2 separate regions of the Homo sapiens genome follow, and region 2 is linked to region 1. The links are contacts of gene promoters, found by promoter capture Hi-C in human tissues and cell types (Jung and others, 2019). All regions are on one chromosome and are shown on one strand. The core of a region is centred on a gene start or on the middle of the fragment in contact, and the rest is flanking DNA. Distances in the headings are between cores, read along the strand shown. Region 1 holds the start of KRT85 (keratin 85). Region 2 has its middle 15 kb from the start of KRT71.

Evidence for each region. The method cuts DNA at HindIII sites, captures the fragments that hold promoters and counts their contacts. A contact is called where the count stands out against the background at its distance.
Region 2: a contact is called between a fragment that was not itself captured here and the fragment with the promoter of KRT85 in region 1, in 1 of the 25 tissues and cell types used here (bladder).

What each region holds. Positions count from the first base shown.
Region 1 is chr12:52,366,184-52,372,131 of GRCh38, reverse strand. KRT85 (keratin 85) reads left to right here and starts at 4,651. Exons shown (of 9, transcript NM_002283.4): 1 at 4,651-5,146. The coding sequence starts at 4,727. RefSeq lists an enhancer at 1,600-2,099. The HindIII fragment of the contact is 10,604 bases long and covers 1-5,948 here.
Region 2 is chr12:52,534,846-52,541,250 of GRCh38, reverse strand. No RefSeq gene overlaps it. Among named protein-coding and RNA genes, the nearest start is that of KRT71, 15 kb to the left of the region's middle. The HindIII fragment of the contact is 6,747 bases long and covers 1,132-6,405 here.

The sequences.
Region 1 (5,948 bases), core at 3,402-5,901:
TGATGGAAAAATAAATAAATAAGAGCAAGATAAGCTGGATGGAGAGTGCCCTGGGGTGGAGGGCAGGTTGCCATTTTTTTAAAGGGTCAGAGAGATGGTATAGGGGCAAAGCCCTGCAGGAGGCAATGGGCAAGCCACTTGGATGACAGGGGAGCATTTGGGTGGAAGAGACAGCAGGGCACAGGCCCTGAGTCAGGAGTGCACCCTGTCCTGGTGCTCCAGTGGGAGGTCACTGTGGTTGCTGAACACAGGGAGACCGGTGACAAAGGCCACAACACAGACAGGCAGTGCAGGGCCTTGTTGGCCATTGTTAGGACTCCAAGCAAAATGGGGAATTGGGTGTTTGAGCAGGGTAGAGACATGATCCAACTTATGTTTTACGGGGCTTACTCTCCTCGGCTGAGAATGGAGTTGGAGGGCCAGGGGCAAACAGGGAGACCAGCATGTCAATCTTATCTATTCTATAACTACATAAGTAAATACATGGCTTTATATAGCTGTTTTCCTCCTAGGATTTGGGGAGATGGCTCAACTGCCAAAAAGAAAAGAAAGAAAACATTTCAAAACCATTCATGCAGTACATTCCTGAAATCAGAGGCTCTGTAACGACTGAGCCACTGCTCTGATCCCGAGTAACCATGGAAAACAGCAAAGCACCAGGGAATGCTGCCAATAGGAAGGCACGTGGACAGAGTTCGGGAGGAGAATGGAGTTTCTTGGAGTTGCCGTGGAGCAGGCCAGGGAGCAGCTGTGTCAGCTGGGCACGGAACCCCGCCATGACACACTGGAGAACGTAGAGTTGCTCTGACCCTCCTTTCTCTCACTTAGGGTCCCTGAATCATGCCCAAGTCTTGTGAAAGTCAAAGAGAGGGAAAGAGGGCTAAGAAGAGCCTCCAAGAGCTGCGTCTCAGCAGCGGCAGTGGCGTAGCCTTAGATGCATAATAAAAGTGTGGCCAGCAGAGGCAAAGGGCGGTACCCAGTTTGAATCAGCTGTGCAGGCCTTGTCCATGGGGAGCCCATCAGGACTGACTGAGGGGGACCAGCCCACTAGGAGGGATGGGAAGACAACCCACAAGAGCCCAGGCAGGCACAAACACAAAACTGGGAGGACAGACAGTGCAGGATGGGGAAGGTGTCAGCACCCTCCTGTCTTTGGACAAATCCAGGAAGTCTTCCTGGAAGGAGGGGATTTTAGCACAGTAGAAAAAGCAGAAGGGAAGGGAGGTAGTGGGCCTCTGGGGTTGGGGAGAGCCAGCTGCCCCAGGGAGCATCCCAGCTCAGGTAAAAAGCACCGCCTGAGAGTGGGGCTGAGGTGGGAGCAGTGAGGCCTCTGAGAAAACCCCAGAATATGTACCTCTGGAGTGGAGCAGATTCACAGGAGGTCTCAGAGGTTGCCTGGAGCTCCAGGGTAGAGTAAAGAACTTCTCTCCTCAAGTAGTTCTTGAAGACTTTCTGGAAGAAGAAGCCACTTGGGAGCAGTTTAAATTATGGGAAGGTCGTGGATTCTTCAGATTCCCGAAACTAGATGGGGCCTTCAAAAGGTGCAGGGTACAAGAGGGGACAGAGCCAAAGGAGGTGATGAGTGACAGTCCTTAGGACAAGAGAGTGTAGAAGGGGATAAATGGAGTTACCTGGGGAGCCCCAGAGAGGGCATTTATGAGACAGCAGGGAGGAGAAATCACAGCCTCCCCCGATGAGCTCACAAAGCCTTCCTGGAAGAGGCAGCTATTCTGAGACATTCCAGGCCAAGGTGTAACAGGGAGAAGGTTGGTGGAAGGAAGAGGGATGCAATAGGGCACAGGTGAATGAGGGCACAGTGAATGAGGGTGAGACACTGAAAGGAGATGGGGCTCCCAGCCCCCAAAAGATCCTGACTCTCAGGGCAACGACTTGGGTTCCACTGGGCAGAGTGGTTGGGTGATGGCTAGAGGCAGGCAGGAGGCTATGTGTTCTCTGTGTCCTCCCTGGGTAGAACCATAAGCAAAGGCCCAGGTCTTTCCAGGGCAGCTGTGCCAGATCCACCTGGCCTGACTTGCTCCCTGGCCCTGGACCACCTGGGGCCAGCCCCGTAAGGAATCTGCTCCCCTCAAGGCTTTGCCCTCAGTCCAGCTCCTCCAATCCGAAGCTCCACCTGGACAGCATCCTGGGAAGCCCCCAGCCCCAGCCCTGGGCTCAGCACTGCCATCAGCAGTGATGCAAGCTTCACCCAGCACGCACGAGCACATTCCTGTGGGCAGGGTGGGCCTGTCTCACCCCCGCACACCCTCGAAGGGGCTCATACCCTTGGGCTGGACAGACCTGCTGGTCCTGTAGAGGTATCTTAGCTCTGGAAACAGTGGAATACCCCCAGACTCCTGAATCCCCTGGCCCCACCTTCCCTTCCCATTTAGGGTGGAGGGTTGGATGGGGTGTGTGTTGGGTGCAAGGGAAAGCAGCTGAAACAGGAGCCTCCCTCCAGGACAAAACCTCCTGCCCCCAAGAAGGAAGAGAAATGTCTCTGGTCCCATCATCTTTAAGAACCTGGAGGAGGGCAGAGGCTTACGGGAGTTGTGGAGAGAGGCAGGTGTTTCTGGGCTTTCAGTCCCCTCTACCTGCCACGTTCGGACCCCACCCTTCTCCAGGAATCCCTCTTGGCCCATACCACACCAGCTCCAGGTCTACATGGCAGTCAGTCAGTGAACTCACTGTCCAAACATCCCTGTATCCCAGCAATAGGCCCCACACTGAGCTCCCCCATACAGCCTCCTCTCTCTGTCCCCAGACTCCACCCAAAATTGCTATACAAGTGAAATCAGACTAAAAAAAAAAACATTAAAAGCAGTCTTGAAAGGGTGAAGGAGTCATAAATGTGCAGAGGAGGTGAAGGCTGTGGCAGGGCAAGGAACAGCCCTTTCTGCTGGGTGAGGCAGGTGGGAATGTTTCTCGTGGAAAGCAACAGTCCCTTTCCTTTACACAGAGCTTTCCCTCACATATCATCCTCTTCACCCTCCCAACAGCCCGGGAAGGTAAGGATGAATCCACATTACAGTTAAGGAAACAGAGGCTCAGAGAGTTTAAGAACTTCCTCCAAAACCATACAGCTAGGAAGGATCCAAACTGGCCCTTGAACCAGGTCTTCCAGCTTTGATTCCATTGCCCGGGTTGCCAAACGCAGTTGCTTTTCCATGGATGATTATGATCTGCATATGTTCTAGGGTCAGCTGGTGAGACCACCTGCTCTTCCCCCACCAGCTGCCAAGGTCTCTCTACCCTGCCCTGAAGAACAATGTGGAATGTGGAGGTGAGGTGGGAATCGATCAGCCTGATCCTGGGTGAAGGTCCTGGGTGAGGTCAGCTGGCTGTGGAGATTAGAGCAGATGCAGGACAGAGTACAGGGCATTTCGTGAAGGACTTATGAGAACAGCAGCATGATGGCAGTGTTTGGTTATGGAAGGCTTCCTGGAGGAGGAGTCACCCTCTGAGGAAGCTCATCGGCTCTTCTTCCTTAAGTTCCTAACACTTGGGTGTCTGGCTAACCTTCCTGGGGGCAGACCCACATCCCCAAGGTTTGTACTCCATAAACATTAAAAGAATAGCACTTGTTATCCTAATAAGTGTCCCAAGGACACACAGGGAAGCAGAAACTAGAAGGATGGGGCTCCCAGAACCCCCAGGAGCCAGAAGTCATAGCCACCTTAGACAAGAATAAACCACTATCCCACTTCCAGCTTTGTGCAATGCAGTCTCTAAACACTCCTCTAGGGATGACAATTCAAGGGCTGGCCAACAGAAGGAATACCTCTTGTAGCTGGTGGTCTGGGAAGGGAGACTCACATGACCTGTTTCTTCTTAAAGAGCAAAGCAAAGGTGCCCACAGCAAATTTATAGCCCCCAGGTTATCCCAAGGTTGAGTTCTCCAATCCTTTTGACCGAATGGAAGAAAGTGGCTAGAGGGAGTCTCCCCATAATCCGCAAGTAGCCATTATTGTGGCCACTGAGAGTTCTGTGGTTTGCACTTTTGCTGGGTGAGAAGTGAAAGCTCTGGACCAGCGCCTTCTGGGCTGGAATCCAGAAGGTTCCAAGAGATCATCTGCCCCAGCCTTTTATCCTGGCACGGGCATGGTCAAAATGACCGCTCTGGTCCTGAACCACCTTCCAAGCAATGCTGCCTAGATGGGGTGGGATTCGCCTGACCTATTGGCCCCTGAAATGCAATGATTTACTTGAGAATGTGTCCTCTGTGGAACCAGATAGATGAATGCAATGATCCCCCAAGTCTCACCTAACCCAGGACCCTCCAACCTCTCCCTTGAGACAATGGCTCCTGCCTGTATCCCAAACCCAGCCACCCCCAGGCTGTTGTGGAGTTCAAATCCGTCTCCAAGTGTGGGTTGAGGCCATCTCACAGAAAGACTGTGAGAAAATTAATTACTTAATGTATGTAAACGAGCTTTGAAGATGAAAAGTTCAAATGCAGTCTCCTTAATAACATCTTCAAGACTTCAGGGAGCCCCAGAGTCGCTGCTGAGCTCACCTTTAAGATGAGTCCGTGGGGAGTTGCTGGCAAACTCCCCAAGCCCATAAACAACATAAAATGGCTTTCCACTCCTTTTATGCAGCCAACCCCAGCTCTCCCCACCAATAAAAGGACCAGGGAGGATCAGAGAGAGCAGAAGGATCCTGAGCCTCGCACTCTGCCGCCCGCACCACCTTCCGCTGCCTCTCAGACTCTGCTCAGCCTCACACGATGTCGTGCCGCTCCTACAGGATCAGCTCAGGATGCGGGGTCACCAGGAACTTCAGCTCCTGCTCAGCTGTGGCCCCCAAAACTGGCAACCGCTGCTGCATCAGCGCCGCCCCCTACCGAGGGGTGTCCTGCTACCGAGGGCTGACGGGCTTCGGCAGCCGCAGCCTCTGCAACCTGGGCTCCTGCGGGCCCCGGATAGCTGTAGGTGGCTTCCGAGCCGGCTCCTGCGGACGCAGCTTCGGCTACCGCTCCGGGGGCGTGTGCGGACCCAGCCCCCCATGCATCACTACCGTGTCGGTCAACGAGAGCCTCCTCACGCCCCTCAACCTGGAGATCGACCCCAACGCACAGTGCGTGAAGCAGGAGGAGAAGGAGCAGATCAAGTCCCTCAACAGCAGGTTCGCGGCCTTCATCGACAAGGTGGGTGAGGCCTGAGACGGCCCAGAGAAGCCTCCAGCCCTGTCCTCCCTTGGGGAGGTCCCAGTCTGCTGAGGAGACAGGATGGCTGCCGGTTTGAGGCAGCAGAGGGAATGACGTGCAGACCCATACAGGTGGAAGGGTCAGTTTCCATCACTTAACTCCCGCAGCATTTAACGAGGTCCAGGTGTGGTCTAGAAATTGAGCCTGTGATCCAAAGTGTGTGCATGTGTGTGTGTGTACATGTGTGTGTGTGTAGCGGTGTGTGCGCCTGTACGTATGTTAGTGTGTGGTGTGTATATGTGTGTGTGTACATGTGTGTGAGCATATGTGTGTGTATGCATGTGAGTGTGTACATGTGTGTGAGCGTGTGTGTGTTTCTTGAGCCAAGACGACATAGGACTATCAGAACTGTGTCTGAAAAACCAGACTGGGCAGCAGGTGCTGGAAGAGTGGGAGATAACGGGGAGACCAAAAGACCTTGTGGCTCCTAGCCAGGCAGCCCGTGAAGGGGCTGGGGTAATGCCCACAGCCATGCTGCCTCTCCCAAGTCCTTGCTGCATCACTCAGCAGTGTGAGACCCCAGGCAGGTTACTCTGCTGAATAACAGGACTGCCTCATCCACCTGTGAGGAATTAATGAGTCCATGCATGAAACATGATGGCAAATAGTCAGCACTCAATACATGTTAGCTGCTACTATCATTATTTTCCAAGGACAGTGGTAGGTGAGGAGGTGTGACAGCCAACCCAGGCCTGGCAGCCCCTTCATGAGAGAGGGCTGAAATGCAGACAGGGAGGTGGCC
Region 2 (6,405 bases), core at 3,256-5,755, 170 kb before region 1:
AAGAAGGCATCCAAAGACAGAGGGGGCTGTGATTGCAGGACTATGGGAGATGAGGAGAGGAGTCATAGTTTGTTCGCTATGGAGTCTGTTTCCTCAAGTGCAGACAGTGAAGGCCCAATGCTTGACAATTGCCACTTGGGAGAGAGCCCTTCTCTCTTCCAGTTACTCCCACAGAAAGGACTTACTGGTCCTTTCTGGCAACTATCCTAGTGCCAGTGACCAGAGACTGGATTGCCTTCACCTTCATATTCCCAGCACATGCCTGGCACCCATTTGCACTCAGCATGAGCTGATGGCCTATCTCTCCTCCCCATGGGGCTTTGACTCCAGGCTTTCCCTGCGGACACTGACAGGAGCCGGTCCTCAGGACACCCAACTGGAGGGTGCCTGCAGCAGTCCAAGCCAGATACAGCAGCCCAGAGAGGGAACCACCAGGGGCTGCTGGGGGTCAAGCCGGCTGTAGACATGGAGGTTGGCACCCTCAGGACACCTCTGGGGCTGAGGAGAGCAGCAGGTTCCCATGGCACCTGGGCGTCTTGCCTAGGTGGCGGAGGCCTCCCAGCCTTGGCCACTGCTCAGCTCCTTCTCTCCATCTGCAGAGCCTCGCCCCCATGGCTTGTCCTGCACTTCAAACCCAGAGTACTGGGCAGGGGAAACGGAAGCTGATGTTTGTGGAGCACCTTCCATGGGCCAGGCTCTGGAGGCTGGGCACAGCTCCTTCATCATCCCTCTGAGGTGGGTGTTATTATTCCCAAGGCAGAGACATACCAATCCCAGGGCTGCAGAGCCAGAATCCGGTGAGGTCTGTCTCTCCATAACCCACACTCTTTCCACACCACTGCCCTGCCTCCCGGGATGGGAACTCTGTGCCCCTGCGGCTGCACCTTTCCACCCTCCCCTGATGTCCTGCAGGCTCCCTGCCCATTTTCTGTTGGCACTTCTATCATATTCCATCAGCCAAAGCCTGATGTCTCTGGGTCCCAGGCACTGGCTGGGTCCCTTTTCCCTGGGCTTTCCTACTGCATGCTGCCCGCAGAGGCTGTGGCCTGTTGTCACTTCCAGGCCGTGGAGGTGGATCCTCTCAGTGTTGGGGGTGTCTGGACAGTGCCTAGGACTCAGCTCCACTTTTGCCTTCCTTGAAGCCCTGGTCCAGAGGTGGCTAGAGCAATGCAGGAGGTGTGGGACCCACAGGAAGCAATGGGGACAGGGAGGAGTTGGGAGAGGGAGGAGGTGGTGGACTGAGGTGGAACTGGGGTGTGGAGGGTGGGCGTGACTTTGGAGGGAGAGAGGTTGGAGCAGACTGGGGTGGACAGCTTATCCTGAGCTGAGTTAACTGGGAGCAGAACCATCAGAATGAAACCTGAGACCAGCAAGAAGGCTCTGGAGAGGGAGAGAGGAGATGGGGCTGGCCGTGCAAGTGGCCTCTTCCGGGCACGGGCCTTTCTTCAGACATTGGTGTGGTGGTCCAGCAGGCTGGAGATGGCCATCTTGTCTCCCATCCTGGCTTTAGAAAAGTTCTACCTTACATCTGACCTTCACCCTCCAGCCACACGGGCCCTTGCTCCCAACAGCTCACTCCCTCCATGGCCAGCAATGAGGACTGTCTCTTCCCAGCTGGCTCTACCCTTGGCCTTCCCAGGCCTGCAGCCTGACCTGAGGCTCACTCTCTAATGTCCCTTCATTCAGTTGTGGCCTTCTCAAAGTGCCAGCTCAAGGAGAGATGCATTTTCAAGCCCAGGTTTCTGCCATAACTATTTCTTATTCCCTCCATACTTGACTAGAGTACAATTGCAGTCCACAGCTGGTGCTAGTGAAAGCGGTAGAGAAATCCACTGATGATCCAGAAATGAAGGCTACACCATAACACAGAAACTTCAGGATCACAGCTGAGCCAAATGGGAACCAGCTGCCCTCACTCGATCCAGATTTTTTTGTTTGTTTGTTTGAATAGATCTTTAATGGTCTTGGAATCCAGCCAAATGGGAAGAGAGGGGCCTCTGAGATGCCATGGAAAATCCTTGAAGCAAATAAAAGGTGGATGAATCATAACACTGGACTGCTTTAGGGATGGCTGGGACAAGGGAGGGTAGAGGGAAGATTCTTTCTCGATTTTCTCCCCAAAGCAAACAAAGTGAGTACCAGGGAAAGGGGCCCCATGCAGGCTGAGGCAGGTTTGGAAAGAGAGTTGGTGGGGACACTGCACCCTCTGAAGCCAGAAAGGCTGGGGCATTCCCTCTGCACATCCTCCCAGGCAAGTCCAGCTCAGCCTCAGGGCTCTCTGGATCTGAGACCCCTTAATCCATGGTCAGGGGTAATGGAAGGCATTTTCCCAACTCAGATGGAGGTGGCAGGGCCACACCTTTGAGCATCCTTCATGTTTGTGAGCAGCGTAGGTGTCCCTGGGTAAATGCTTTGGCTGGAAGAGATGTGCAGTGAGGGAGCCCTGAGCCAGGCCCAGAGCCTCCAGACCACTACAGTCAGACGTTAGGAGTCAACCATCATCAAACAGCATTTCACATCAGCTGCTGGGGCTGATTTGGAGCTCCAGAGAGCCAGCCTTTTATTTTGCCAAAATTGGACATTAAGAGTGCAACAATCACCACCCACTACCGTCATCATTTCATAAAAGAAAAGGACAATTTAACAGTAGGAAGGACATTCTCTCAGACTAAGCTCAGCCCTTTAGATAAAGTCAAGCTAGCCCCATGAAAGATTTACTGCATTGCACTTACTTTTCTCAATTGCTTCAGACTACTGAGAAACACATCAAACCTGCGCCCTGTCTCAGCATTTCCCATGTCACCTCTTTGTACCTCAGGGTCCTCATCTACACGATGGGAATATGACCACACTGTCAACTGCACAATGTTCAGAAAATCACCAAAAGGGATGGAGAAGGGGAAGCACACAGAAAAATACCAGGATCTCCTGCCTGTCAGGAACAAGGATGGCGATGATGAGGGTGACGACGATCCTGCAGGAGCGATGCCTTGCAGGGGTGAGGGGCCTGGCTCTGGGCCCAGCCTCCAGCAGGGCTGCCACACTTAGCAAGTTCTTTAATCTTCTTGAGTCTCTTTTCGCTTCTGTAGAAGTGAGGATAATAATAACAATAACAGTAATAATAATAATAATAACTACTTCTTTGCATCTTTTTGTTTGAGACATAAAATCCCAGGCCCATAGTAAGAGCTCAATAAATGTTAGCTATAGCAATAAATGATTACTATTATTAGATACAATAATACCTACCCTAGAAACTGTGGGTAATTTTTAGGGGTTCACTGGGGACTCTAGTCCTAAATCGATTTCCCAGCAGCGGGAGTACTTGTCTCCTCCTCCTTCTTCTTGTGCCCTAGACCAGTGTATTTTAGACCACGTTTCTGAAATGTTGCCTCCTCCAGGGGACTAATCAGAGCTTCAGTCTCTAACTTCCTTCTCCATCTCACCCCACTGCAGTGGAACTTTCCCCTGTACTTCTCCCTGAACCGAACTCTTGGAGTCTCCTTCTAAGGCCATGCCTTGCTCCAAAGTTCATGATTTACTTTAAACAGGATTGCTACTTCTACCCCCAAGTACCCCCTCCTCGACCTTTGGAAGTCTTGATCAATGTGTCCCCTGCATCCTGGAGGTTCCTGGTGGGCACAGCTTGGGTGGTGTAGTGTTTTTTGTGTGTGGTGTTCATGGCAGAATTGCTGCAGGCTGCACAAGGTGTTTGCGATGATGGCGATTACAAGAAACCTGCAGAGCCGCAGAGCTGTGTCCCCAGTGCTCTGGACACCATTCACTGGCACAGACTCCCCTCTCTGTGATGTAGGCACCCCTTGGTCTTGCTTCAGAGCTATCTTTGATGGGGTTAGAAAAGACTAGCAGACAGGTGGGAGACCTAGTCACCACCTGACATCCTGAGTGCCAGGCCTGTCAGCAGCCAGTACCGAAGGGCAAGAGCAGGCAGGCAGGGCTGGGGCTGAGTGCCAACCTGGGGAATGACATCTCTGTGGCACTGTGGTTGACTATCCAGGGCACGTGTCTACAAACTGGGATGGGAGGCAGGACAGTGGAGTGGAGAATAGACTGAAAAAGATGTCCAAAGTGGAAAAAAGGGAGGAGGGGAAGAGGAGGCGCAGGGACCTCTAGTCCACACCTCTGAGACTCTGCGGATTTGGAAAATGAAGGAAGGGAAGGGACAGGCTGTCAGTGCCACAAAGGACAGGGCCTGGGCAATGGGCTCACAGGGTAGCGAGAGGGGTGGAGACAGTGGTGTGCTGGTAACTAAAGTGTGCTGCTGAGCCTAACAACCAGCTCTCTGAAAAAATGCATAGATGTGTATATATACAAATATATATACATGTAAATGTGTATTTATGTTTATGTTATAAGTTTACTAGAAGTTTTACTGCTATATTAGATATGTAGCATACAGTTTACAAATAATAATAAAATCTACAAGTCTTTTTTTTTTTTTTTTTTTGAGACGGAGGCTCGCTCTGTTGCCCAGGATGGAGTGCAGTGGCACCATCTCGGCTCACTGCAAGCTCCGCCTCCCAGGTTCAAGCCATTCTCCTGCCTCAGCCTCCCAAGTAGCTGGGACTATAGGCGCCCGCCACCACGCCCGGCTAATTTTTTGTATTTTTATTAGAGATGGGGTTTCACCATGTTAGCCAGGATGGTCTCGATCTCCTGACCTCATGATCCACCCACCTCGGCCTCCCAAAGTGCTGGGATTACAGGCGTGAGCCACCGTGCCCAGCCCTACAATACTCTTTATTATAAACTTGATACAGCCAAGTGACCCTCATGGAATGCTTTCAGTTGGCTTTTGACAAACTCTTATGCCCATGGCTGGCCAGTGGCTGCAACCAACAAACCAGCATAGCCCCCACATGAATGTTAGCTCCCATGTTCATCTTCACAGTTAAGATGAACGTGAAATGATGAAGATGAATGTTGGAACTTACTTGCTCCTCAATGATGTGAGTGACTTTTTGGCTGAATCAGATAATGGGTTTTAAATACCGGGATATTATTTTGTATTTTTTGGCTATTCATAATGTTATTATCAATGGGCACAACATACTTTTAATTTTAATCTACGTTATAAACATTTTCCCCATCACTTTATTAAATTTAGACCAGAGCTGTCCAGTAGAAATGCAATGAAAGCCACAGATATTATTTAAAATCTGCTAGTAGCCACATTTAAGGAATAGACTAAATTAATTCTAATATATTTGACATAATATATAGAAAACACTATTCTTTCAATAGATAATCAATATAAACATTTTTGATGATATATTTTACATTCTTTTCTTCCATTCTGAATCTTCAATATCCAGTACATATGACATATCTAAGCTTGGACTAGCCACATTTCAAGTGCTCAGTTAGCCACATGGAACTAGTGGCAGCTGTGTGAGGCTGTGCAGCTCCAGACAATCAACCAAACAATAAACCAAGCTCTGATTTGTAGTGCTTGCCAGTTCGCTTGGGGTAAATTCTCCCACAAAGGTGATTTCAAGCTACCAACATGATGTCACTGATTACAGGCTGGAAAGAGATGTGAACACCATGGTAGGGGATTTCTGCATGTAGATTCAATAAATGTCAACAACCACAAGAACTTTGATAATATATCAAAGTAAAGTATAATAAAATTAGAAAATGATGAGTTTTAAACATTTCTTCCCTTTGTTTTTAATGCAATGTATTTAACTATAATTTTACATAATTTAATTTGAATTATGGCTATGTTTAATAACAGCTCACAACGTTCTTCAAAATTTAACAATCGGCTTTTGCAAACCCTTTCAGTTTGCTCTACCACAACAGTAGTCAGATATAAGAACACAGGGAGGTCTTCAAATGAGACGTGGTTTTTTTGCAACGATCAAAATGGGATTTATGTTTAGTGAAACTTAACAGACACTTATTGAGGTACCATCTGGTACAGGGATGATGCTGGAGGGTTGGCGCAGGACAGGGTGGCTACAGAATGAACACAATGTGATTCTGGCCCTCAGAGGTATTAAGGTTCTAAGGAAGCACAGATGATCACAGTAATAATAATATGTGCAAGTTAAAATGGTGGCCCTGAGGGTTGTGGATCCCAGAGGTGGCAAGGTTAAAGGGCATTTGGGTTCCAGACCTGGCTCTGTCTCTAAGTCACTGCCTCATTTTGCCCTCAGTTTCCCTTCCTGTTAAATGAGGGGGTTGAGCTGGGTGAACCCCCAGGTTTCCGTCCAGCCTCCAAGGTGGGTCTTCCAATGTAGCGACTGAAGAGTGTGGCTTTCTGGATTAAAGGGCATTGGAGCTGGGCTTTAAAACACTGCCTTCTCCAATGTCAGGAACTGTGAAGGTAAAAGGGGCAGGAACATGAAAGAAGCTTTGGGAAGATGAGATCCCTGG